Regions from separate parts of the Homo sapiens genome. Here regions 1 and 2 are each linked to region 3. The links are contacts of gene promoters, found by promoter capture Hi-C in human tissues and cell types (Jung and others, 2019). All regions are on one chromosome and are shown on one strand. Each heading gives the region's core, a stretch centred on a gene start or on the middle of the fragment in contact. The rest is flanking DNA. Distances are from core to core; before and after follow the strand shown. Region 1 has its middle 10 kb from the start of MIR4712. Region 2 overlaps USP8 (ubiquitin specific peptidase 8). Region 3 holds the start of USP8 (ubiquitin specific peptidase 8).

Evidence for each region. Contacts are between HindIII fragments. The study calls those that stand out against the background at their distance.
Region 1: a fragment that was not itself captured here is called in contact with the fragment with the promoter of USP8 in region 3 in 1 of the 25 tissues and cell types used here (ovary).
Region 2: a contact is called between a fragment that was not itself captured here and the fragment with the promoter of USP8 in region 3, in 1 of the 25 tissues and cell types used here (mesenchymal stem cells).

The regions. Positions count from the first base shown.
Region 1 is chr15:50,369,212-50,371,911 of GRCh38, reverse strand. No RefSeq gene overlaps it. Among named protein-coding and RNA genes, the nearest start is that of MIR4712, 10 kb to the right of the region's middle. The HindIII fragment of the contact is 3,399 bases long and covers 1-2,700 here.
Region 2 is chr15:50,462,975-50,465,674 of GRCh38, reverse strand. USP8 (ubiquitin specific peptidase 8) reads right to left here. Exons shown (of 20, transcript NM_005154.5): 7 at 484-628. It also overlaps the pseudogene RNA5SP395. Among named protein-coding and RNA genes, the nearest start is that of USP8, 40 kb to the right of the region's middle. The HindIII fragment of the contact is 3,549 bases long and covers 1-2,700 here.
Region 3 is chr15:50,422,974-50,425,673 of GRCh38, reverse strand. USP8 (ubiquitin specific peptidase 8) reads right to left here and starts at 1,269. Exons shown (of 20, transcript NM_005154.5): 1 at 1,160-1,269. RefSeq lists enhancers at 1,022-1,411, 1,450-2,446 and a silencer at 1,522-1,571. The HindIII fragment of the contact is 18,008 bases long and covers 1-2,700 here.

The DNA of each region.
Region 1 (2,700 bases), core at 201-2,700, 54 kb after region 3:
GGAAAACAGCACGGGAAGAAACAGTCAGGCATGTCTGAGAAGCAGCATGGTAACAGTAGAAATAAAACATGAGTTTCCAGGTGGAAGACCAAATGGGGGAAAAGTTGTAATTTTGCTATTTTCATTTTTTTTAGATGGAGTCTAGCTCTGTCGCCCAGGCTGGAGTGCAGTGACACAATCTCGGGCCACTGCAACCTCCACCTCCCGGGTTCAAACGATTCTCCTCCCTCAACCCCCCGAGTAGTTGGTATTACAGGCACCTGCCATCATGCCTGGCTAATTTTTGTATTTTTAGTAGAGATGGGGTTTCACTGTATTGGCTAGGCTGGGATTGAACTCCTGACCTCAGGTGATCCACCCACTTCGGCCTCTCAAAGTGTTGGGATTACAGGCGTGAGGTACCGCACCCGACCGATTTTGCTATTCTTGACCTGCATATTACTTATCTTGAATCTACATTTTCTCATTTGTAAAACCAGGGGTAACACCTACCTTGCAGAGATTAAATGAGAAATCTACATGAAAGCATTTAATAGTTGATGAATAAATGCATAAGTGGAGTCAAATGTGTAGTAACATCCAGTATTTTAATATTTATGCTTGATAAGTCATTTAAGTTGAAGACTCTTTATGTATTAATTTCAGCAAGTAACATAACCACACAGAATAGACAATGAAAGCATAATTAGTCATTATACACAATTATAATTTGATAAAAAATTTCAACATATACAGAAGTATAAAGAATGTGTATCTATCATGCAGCTTCTACAATTATCATTCCAACTCCTCGTTTCTTTGATATTGCCAACAATTTACACCCTGCCCCAATTCCAAATTTGGAAACAAGTCCCAGATATTAATATAATTTCCTCTTCAACATTTCAGTATGCCTGAGAGATTCTTGTTTAAAAAAAACATTTTTTTGAGGGGCACAGGGTCTCTCTCTGTCACCCAGGCTGGAGTGTAATGGTGCGATCTTGGCTCACTGCAACCTCTGCCTCCCAGGCTCAAGCAATTCTCCTGGTTCAGCCTCCCAGGTAGCTAGGACTACAGGCGCACACCACTGCTCTAGGACTGTGTACTCTTTTAGAGATGGGGTTTCACCATGTTAGCCAGGCTGGACTCAAACTTCTGAGCTCAGGTGATCCGCCCACCTTGGCCTCACAAAGTGCTGGGATTACAGGCATAAGCCAGGGTGCCAAGCCTTGTTTTAAAATTTAATCTTTATGCTCTGAATGGAAAGGCTATAAATGGAGTTCAATGAAAGGAAAAAACATTTAAAAAATAGAAGTTCTTTCTTTCTTCTTTTTAAGATGGAGTCTTGCTCTGTTGCCCAAGCTGGAGTGCAGTGGCACGATCTCAGCTCACTGCAGCCTCCCCTGGGTTCAAGTGATCCTCCTGCCTTAGCCTCCCAAGTACCTGGGATTACAAGCGTGCACCACCAGGCCTGGCTAATTTTTTGTATTTTTAGTAGAGATGGGGTTTCGCCGTGTTGGCCAGGCTGGTCTGGAACTCCTGGCCTCAAGTGATCCATCTGCCTCGGCCTCCCAAAGCACTGGGATTACAGGTGTGAGCCACTGTATCCAGACAAAAATAAAATTTAATCATAACATCATTCTAATAATAAAACATCACAGCCAAACAAAATTAATGATTCCTTGGTATCATTAAATATCCAGTTAATCCCACATTTAATACCACTTACAGCCCATTATTACTTTTGTTATATTATCACAGCCAGTTCCAAAACTTATAGCCCATTAAGTGTATGAGTTTACACCTGCATTTATATTATCTCTGATTTCTTTTTTTTTTTTTTGAGACAGAGTCTCACTCTGTTGCCCCAGGTTGGAGTGCAGTGGCGTGATCTTGGCTCACTGCAACCTCCACCTCCTGTGTTCAAGCAATTCTCTTGTGCCTCAGCCTCTTGAGTAGCTGGGATTACAGGCACACACCATCACGTCCAGCTAATCTTTTGTATCTCTAGTAGAGATAGGCTTTTGCCATGTTGCCCAGGCTGGTCTTGAACTCCTGGCCTCAAGTGATCCACCTGCCTTGGCCTCCCAAAGTGCTGGGCTTATAGGCATGAGCCACTATGCCCAGCCTCTGATTTCTTTTTTCTTTTTTTTGAGGCAGAGTCTTGCTCTGTTGCCCCGGCTGGAGTGCAGTGACACGATCTTGGCTCACTGCAACCTCCACCTCCCGGATTCAAGCAATTCTCCTAACTCAGCACCCAAGCAGCTAGGATTACAGGCATGCACCAGCACGCCCGACTAATTTTTGTATTTTTAGTAGAGACGGGGTTTTGCCATGTTGGCCAGGCTGGTTTCTAACTCCCGACATCTGGTGATCTGTCTGCCTGGGCCTCCCAAAGTGCTGGGATTACAGGCGTGAGCCACCTTGCCCGGCAAGCAGCCTCTGATTTCAACTCAAGAGACAGAAGAGGATCCCAAATTCCAAGCAACTCCCAAGATGCAAATCAAAATATGGAAATGTTAAACAAATTGAAGGATTTCCCAATAGTTACCTGCAACACCTAAAGGTCACTGTTTCCAAATGGTGCAAGAACTATGCAAACAATATGTTGGTTGCTGTTAAATTCAAGGACAGGACACTATTAACAGTTATAACATTTTTGTATGGACCTTTATGAATCTGTGGGAAACTAGAGACGCGCTGTCTTAGCTTAGGATGCCA
Region 2 (2,700 bases), core at 138-2,637, 40 kb before region 3:
TGGTACATACGATTCACATGCTTATAAACAGAAAATAATAGGAAAAATCAGTTAACAAACATCTGGGGAGAGAGGGAAAAGGCAACTTCATTTCTCTTTTGATAAGATTCTAAATACCACCAATAGGAGAAAACAGCCAAATCAAAAGTTGGCAAATCCGTAACTTCAACCTTCAAAAAGGGTGGAGTGTGTCTTTAAGAAGCAAAGATTTAGGGAAATCCCACTTGGGCACCCCTCACTCTCAAAAGTGAGAGAGCAGTTCTTCTTTCTCTTTCTTTTGCCTATTAAACCTCTGCTCCTAAAATGTACCTCCCCCTCCCCTCCCCCACCACCCACACACATAAAAAGAGGCAAAGATTTAAAAAGTTACCAGGAAAAGACTACTTTATCACATTTAGCTTGGATGCTAAGTAGTAACATTTACTAAGGTCCACAGTTTACTACTTACTACACAGTTTACTACTTTACTACACAATAACCCACCCTGGACTGATGGCTTCTTCAGGAACACTGAGAGAATGTAAAATACAGGAATCCTGATAATCCTGCATTCTTCGAGCATCCATTATAATCAAGCTGATGTTTTTATCCGTCATCATTGTGTATAGTTCCTTTGCTGTGATTGCTCCTTGGAATTGAGAGAGACAGTGTAAGTGACAAGAAACAGCACAAGATGTGCTGACATCACAAAACACAGGACAAACCGCTTTTTCTAGAAGAGCAAAGTATACTGAATATATATGGATGCCACATATTTACTACTCCATCATACCATTTATTATCTTGTAAACTAACATTAAATACAACTTGTTTTTTTTCTTGAGACAGGGTCTCGTTCTGTAACCCAGGCTGGAGTGCAGTGGCATGATCTCAGCTCACTGCAACCTCCACCTCCCAGGTTCAAGTGATTCTCCTGCCTCAGCCTCCTGAGTAGCTGGGAACACAGGCTGTTACCACGCCTGGCTAATTTTTGTATTTTTAGTAGAGATGGGGTTTCACCATGTTGACTAGGCTGGTCTGGAACTCCTGACCTCAAGCGATCTGCCCACCTTGGCGTCCCAAAGTGTTGGGATTACAGGCGTGAGCCACCACATACCTGACCTTGTGTTTTTAACATTTATCAAGAAACCAGTTCGATGCTCTGTTTACAAAGACTTAAAAATCAAAACTTTCTGTTGAGTTTACAGCTACACCTGGTATTGACTCTGTTACCAACATAAAATAAAGAACATTAATATATGTGTCTCAGGAAAATAGTATGTTTTCAAAAATTAAGACATTAGAAAAATGCTAACTGGAAGAAAGAAATATCTATGGTTCTAAAATTCTGGAAAAGTTCTAAATTCAAAAGGTCTCTGATGGCAGTCTTACGGTAGCTTTTTGAAAAACTTAGATATCCAAGTATTCTTAGAATAACAAGTCAAAAGCTTGCTATTCTACATCAGAGGTTGAAAAACTATGGCCATCTGTTTTTACTGGATCACTGCCACACTAGTTTGTTTACACATTTTTTCATACTGCAACAGCAGAGATCAATAGTTGTGTCAGAGACCACAGGACTCTCCAAGCCCATAAGGTTCCCCAAGCCTAAAATGTTTACCATCTATCCCTTTAAGAAAAATTTGCCAATTGTCATTCTACTTGATGTTCATTTGTTAGCTCCCAGCCAGAAGGAAAAAAGATTATTTTGTTTTCTAAGAAGGCTAACAAAAAGGAAACTAAGTAAAGCTAATGCAATATTTAATTTATTTACTTTTGGGGGAGGGCAGCAATCTGTCAAAATAAATATTCCCTATGTTACTATTTTTCCTTAGCTCTACTGAAGTGAAAGATTAAAAGGCACTACAAGAGAGTTGAGATTATATAATAAGCTGTTTCAGCAGTGAGCTGTGAGAAGAAAAGTAGTCTCAGTAGCTCCTATGCTAAAAGACCTATAGCTGCTAACAATCGTCCTCCTTCCATCTCTAGCCATCAAGTGTATGCTAACAAAACAGACTAAAAAAGTTGTTAACAAACCACTGAGAAGGACAACATTTAAGCAGGATGACATACAAAGGAACAAATGCATAAAAACTAATCTTGGAATGAATCAGTAACAGCTTTTAGGGAAGTACCTTATAGCACACTCAGTTTACTTTTGTAATTGTTGTATGGCAATATTTTAAGTAGAGAATTTATTTTACTGTTACCTATAATTATGTTTAAGTTCAACCTTTTCTCTGATCCAAGTACTAACCAGGCCTGACCCTGCTTCGCTCCCGAGATCGGGCGCGTTAGGTGGTATGGCTGTAGACAAGGTAAACCTTTTCTGAGAGAGGAAAACGTCTCTAGCAGATGAAGAGGAATTCCAAAGTCTTGTTTAGGTCACATATTTGTCACTAGAGCATCAACGCCACCTATGGATAATTTCCATATTACTGGTTTGGATTTGAGACAGGGTCTCACTGTCATAGGCTGCAGTACAGTGGTGTGATCGTGGCTCACTGCAGCCTCAACCTCCCGGGCTCGAACAATTCTCCCACCTCAACCTCCTGAGCAGATGGGACTAAGGGCATCCACCACCACACCCAGCTAATTTTTGTATTTTTTGTAGAGACAGGGGTTTCACCATGTTACCTAGGCTGGTCTTGAACTCCTGGGCTCAAGCAATCCTCCTTCCTGAGCCTCCCAAAGTGCTGGGATTACAGGAATGAGCCACTG
Region 3 (2,700 bases), core at 20-2,519:
GTATTTTTTTTTTAAACTACTACAGGGTCTTCACTAATATTAAAGATGCATCCAATGTGTCACAAGAAAAGGAATACATATTTCAAAGCAGCCATATCAACATGATAAAGACATAACACAACCGATATCACCTTCCAGATATGCTTAATAGTCCAGGGATATGCTGTAAGGAGAAACTACCCAAATCCATCATGAATGACATTCACCAACGAATCTTAAACAGAATCGGCTGAAATGCAAAAATCTGCTTACATAGCAAAGCCGCAGCAGAGCAAGCCTAAAACAGGAATACTTCCTTAACAAATACCACTTGGCATTTTTAATGGCTGCAGCAAGATATTTACAAAACTAACGATGCTTTGCAGATTCAGAAAAGGTAACATCCTTTAGATATAAATCCCTTTCATCTGAAACCCTCAGGTCTCTTAACAAATACTAAATTCCTTAGGCTCTGCAACACCTCCGTGTCAGGTAAATTTTTTGTTAGTGATTAAGTGACTTGTTCAAGGTCACAGAATGAACTGGAGGCAAGAAATAAACCCAGGAGGGTGGTCTGCAGCTTTATAATGCACATCACTGCTAGTAAGGATTCTGATAATTTCCAAGGTGGAGTGGCGGTGAAATTAACTTGTCCCACAACTCTAGGATGGAAGGCACTTTTTAGGGGAAAAAAAAAAAATCTTCTATTTGAGGAAGTCATAGTTTTAACTCTGACAAGCTTATAGGGTCTTTAAACTCAAACTTCACTAAAATCAAGTGTGACTGGGGAAGAAGAGAAACTGGGAAACAGTTTTAGGAGCTACAGTAAGGCCTGGGATTGTAGGCAGATTGCAGAAAAAAAAAAAAACCGGAAGCAAGAGGAAAGAGGTCAAAGTCGGGTATAAGTGTCCAAGAGAACGGAAGATTGGTCAAAGCCACCTTTTAAAACCAAAAAAACACACGAAACTCGCTTGGCAATCCTAGGTAGATGGCGTAAAAGACTCAAGGTTGGGCCTTTCCTCTCCACAAGCTGATTCTACCTTTAGGAGTTGTCCCACTCCTCTCCGCGGACAGAGCTTGTCTCCGGGGTAACCAGCAGCTGGTGGAAGGAAAGGCGTTCATCGTTCACAGCGGACGACTTCCCAGAGAACAGGTGCTAGGGCCCAAGACCCGCACTCACCGTGACGCCGGGCGCGCTTCACTAACGCCAGCCTTCTCGCCAAATGCCCATCTCCCAAGAACTCGAGGGAGAATTAGCCTTGGCTACCAGGACGGAAGCCAGCCCAGCTCACCCCCTTTTCCCGATTTGCATTGCGAGGCGACGCGTCGCGTCTCCAGACGTCACGGCAGGGGCGGGGCTTCGCGTGCGCTCCCTTGACTCCTCTCTCTTCCACCGCCCTCCCCTTTTCGGTGAGGGCCGCGGGGCGAGGGATGGTCGAGGGAGGGTCGAGGAGGACGTTATGGGTGGGCGGTGGCGGCAAGGGCGGGGTTTCTCTGAGTCGGGTCAACATAGTTGGCCGGTCCCTTACCCCCCGCACTGCACCCTGCATTTCCGGGTTGCAAGGCGGCGCCTGGGCCTTGTTGTGGAAGAAGCAAGGTTGCTCTTGCGTCCCTTTACTACGTTATTTTCCTCCTCAGATTGGAAATTAGAAAAAAGGGGATTTAACGCCCCTCTATTTCTGGCTAAACATTCTCTGAAGCCAAGCCTTTGGTCAAAGAAAAACAAGTATTATCCTAAAACATATTTTATGTACAATTTTTAACGTCACTTAAAAGGCCCCGGCGAGGCTGGGCACGGTGGCTCACGCCTGTAATCCCAGCGCTTTGGGAGGCCGAGGCGGGCAAATGATGAGGTCAGGAGTTCGAGACCAGCCTGGCCAACATGGTGAAACCCCCGTCTCTATTAAGAATACAAAAAATTAGCTTGGCGTGGTGGCGTGCGCCTGTAATCCTAGCTACTCCAGTGGCTGAGGCAGGAGAATTGCTTAAACCCGGGGAGCGAAGGTTGCAATGAGCCGAGATCGCGCTACTGCACTCCAGCCTGGGCAGCAGAGCAAGACTCCGTCTGGTTGGGCGAAGGCCCCGTGTAATAGAAACGAAATGAGACGTCTGAACTTTCTCGCGAGCTGATCTTTGTACTCTCTTAGAGAAAGGTGATTGGATGCTCCGGTTGCCTGTAAACATAAAATTGACTTGGGTGGAGCTTTAGGCAGTAGTCACTAAGTCCTCAGGAACATTCCAGGTGTCTCAGGGATGGGAAATCTGGCTAGCGAGGTCTAGTAAATGCTTTAAGTGAAAGTGTGTGCCACATGGTACAGTGTACACTGCTCGGGTGATGGGTGCACCAAAATCTCAGAAATGACCACTAAAGAACTTTTCCATGCAACCTGTTCCTCCAAAACTACTGAAATAAAAATTTTTAAAAATAAAAAAGGATAAAATAAAGAAAGTGTGTTCAATGAATTTGTGATGAAGGCCAGGTTGCAGTGGCCCAGGCCTGTAATCCCAGCACTTTGGGAGGCTGAGGCAGGAGGATCCCTTGATCCCAAGAGACAGAGACCAGCTTGAGCAACAAAGGGAGACCCTCATCTCTACAAAACAAAAATTTAAAAATTAGACCGGGAGCGGTAGCTCACGCCTGTAATCCCAGCACTTTGGGAGGCCAAGGTGGGCAGATCACTTGAGGTCAGGAGTTTGAGACCAGCCTGGCCAAAATGGCAA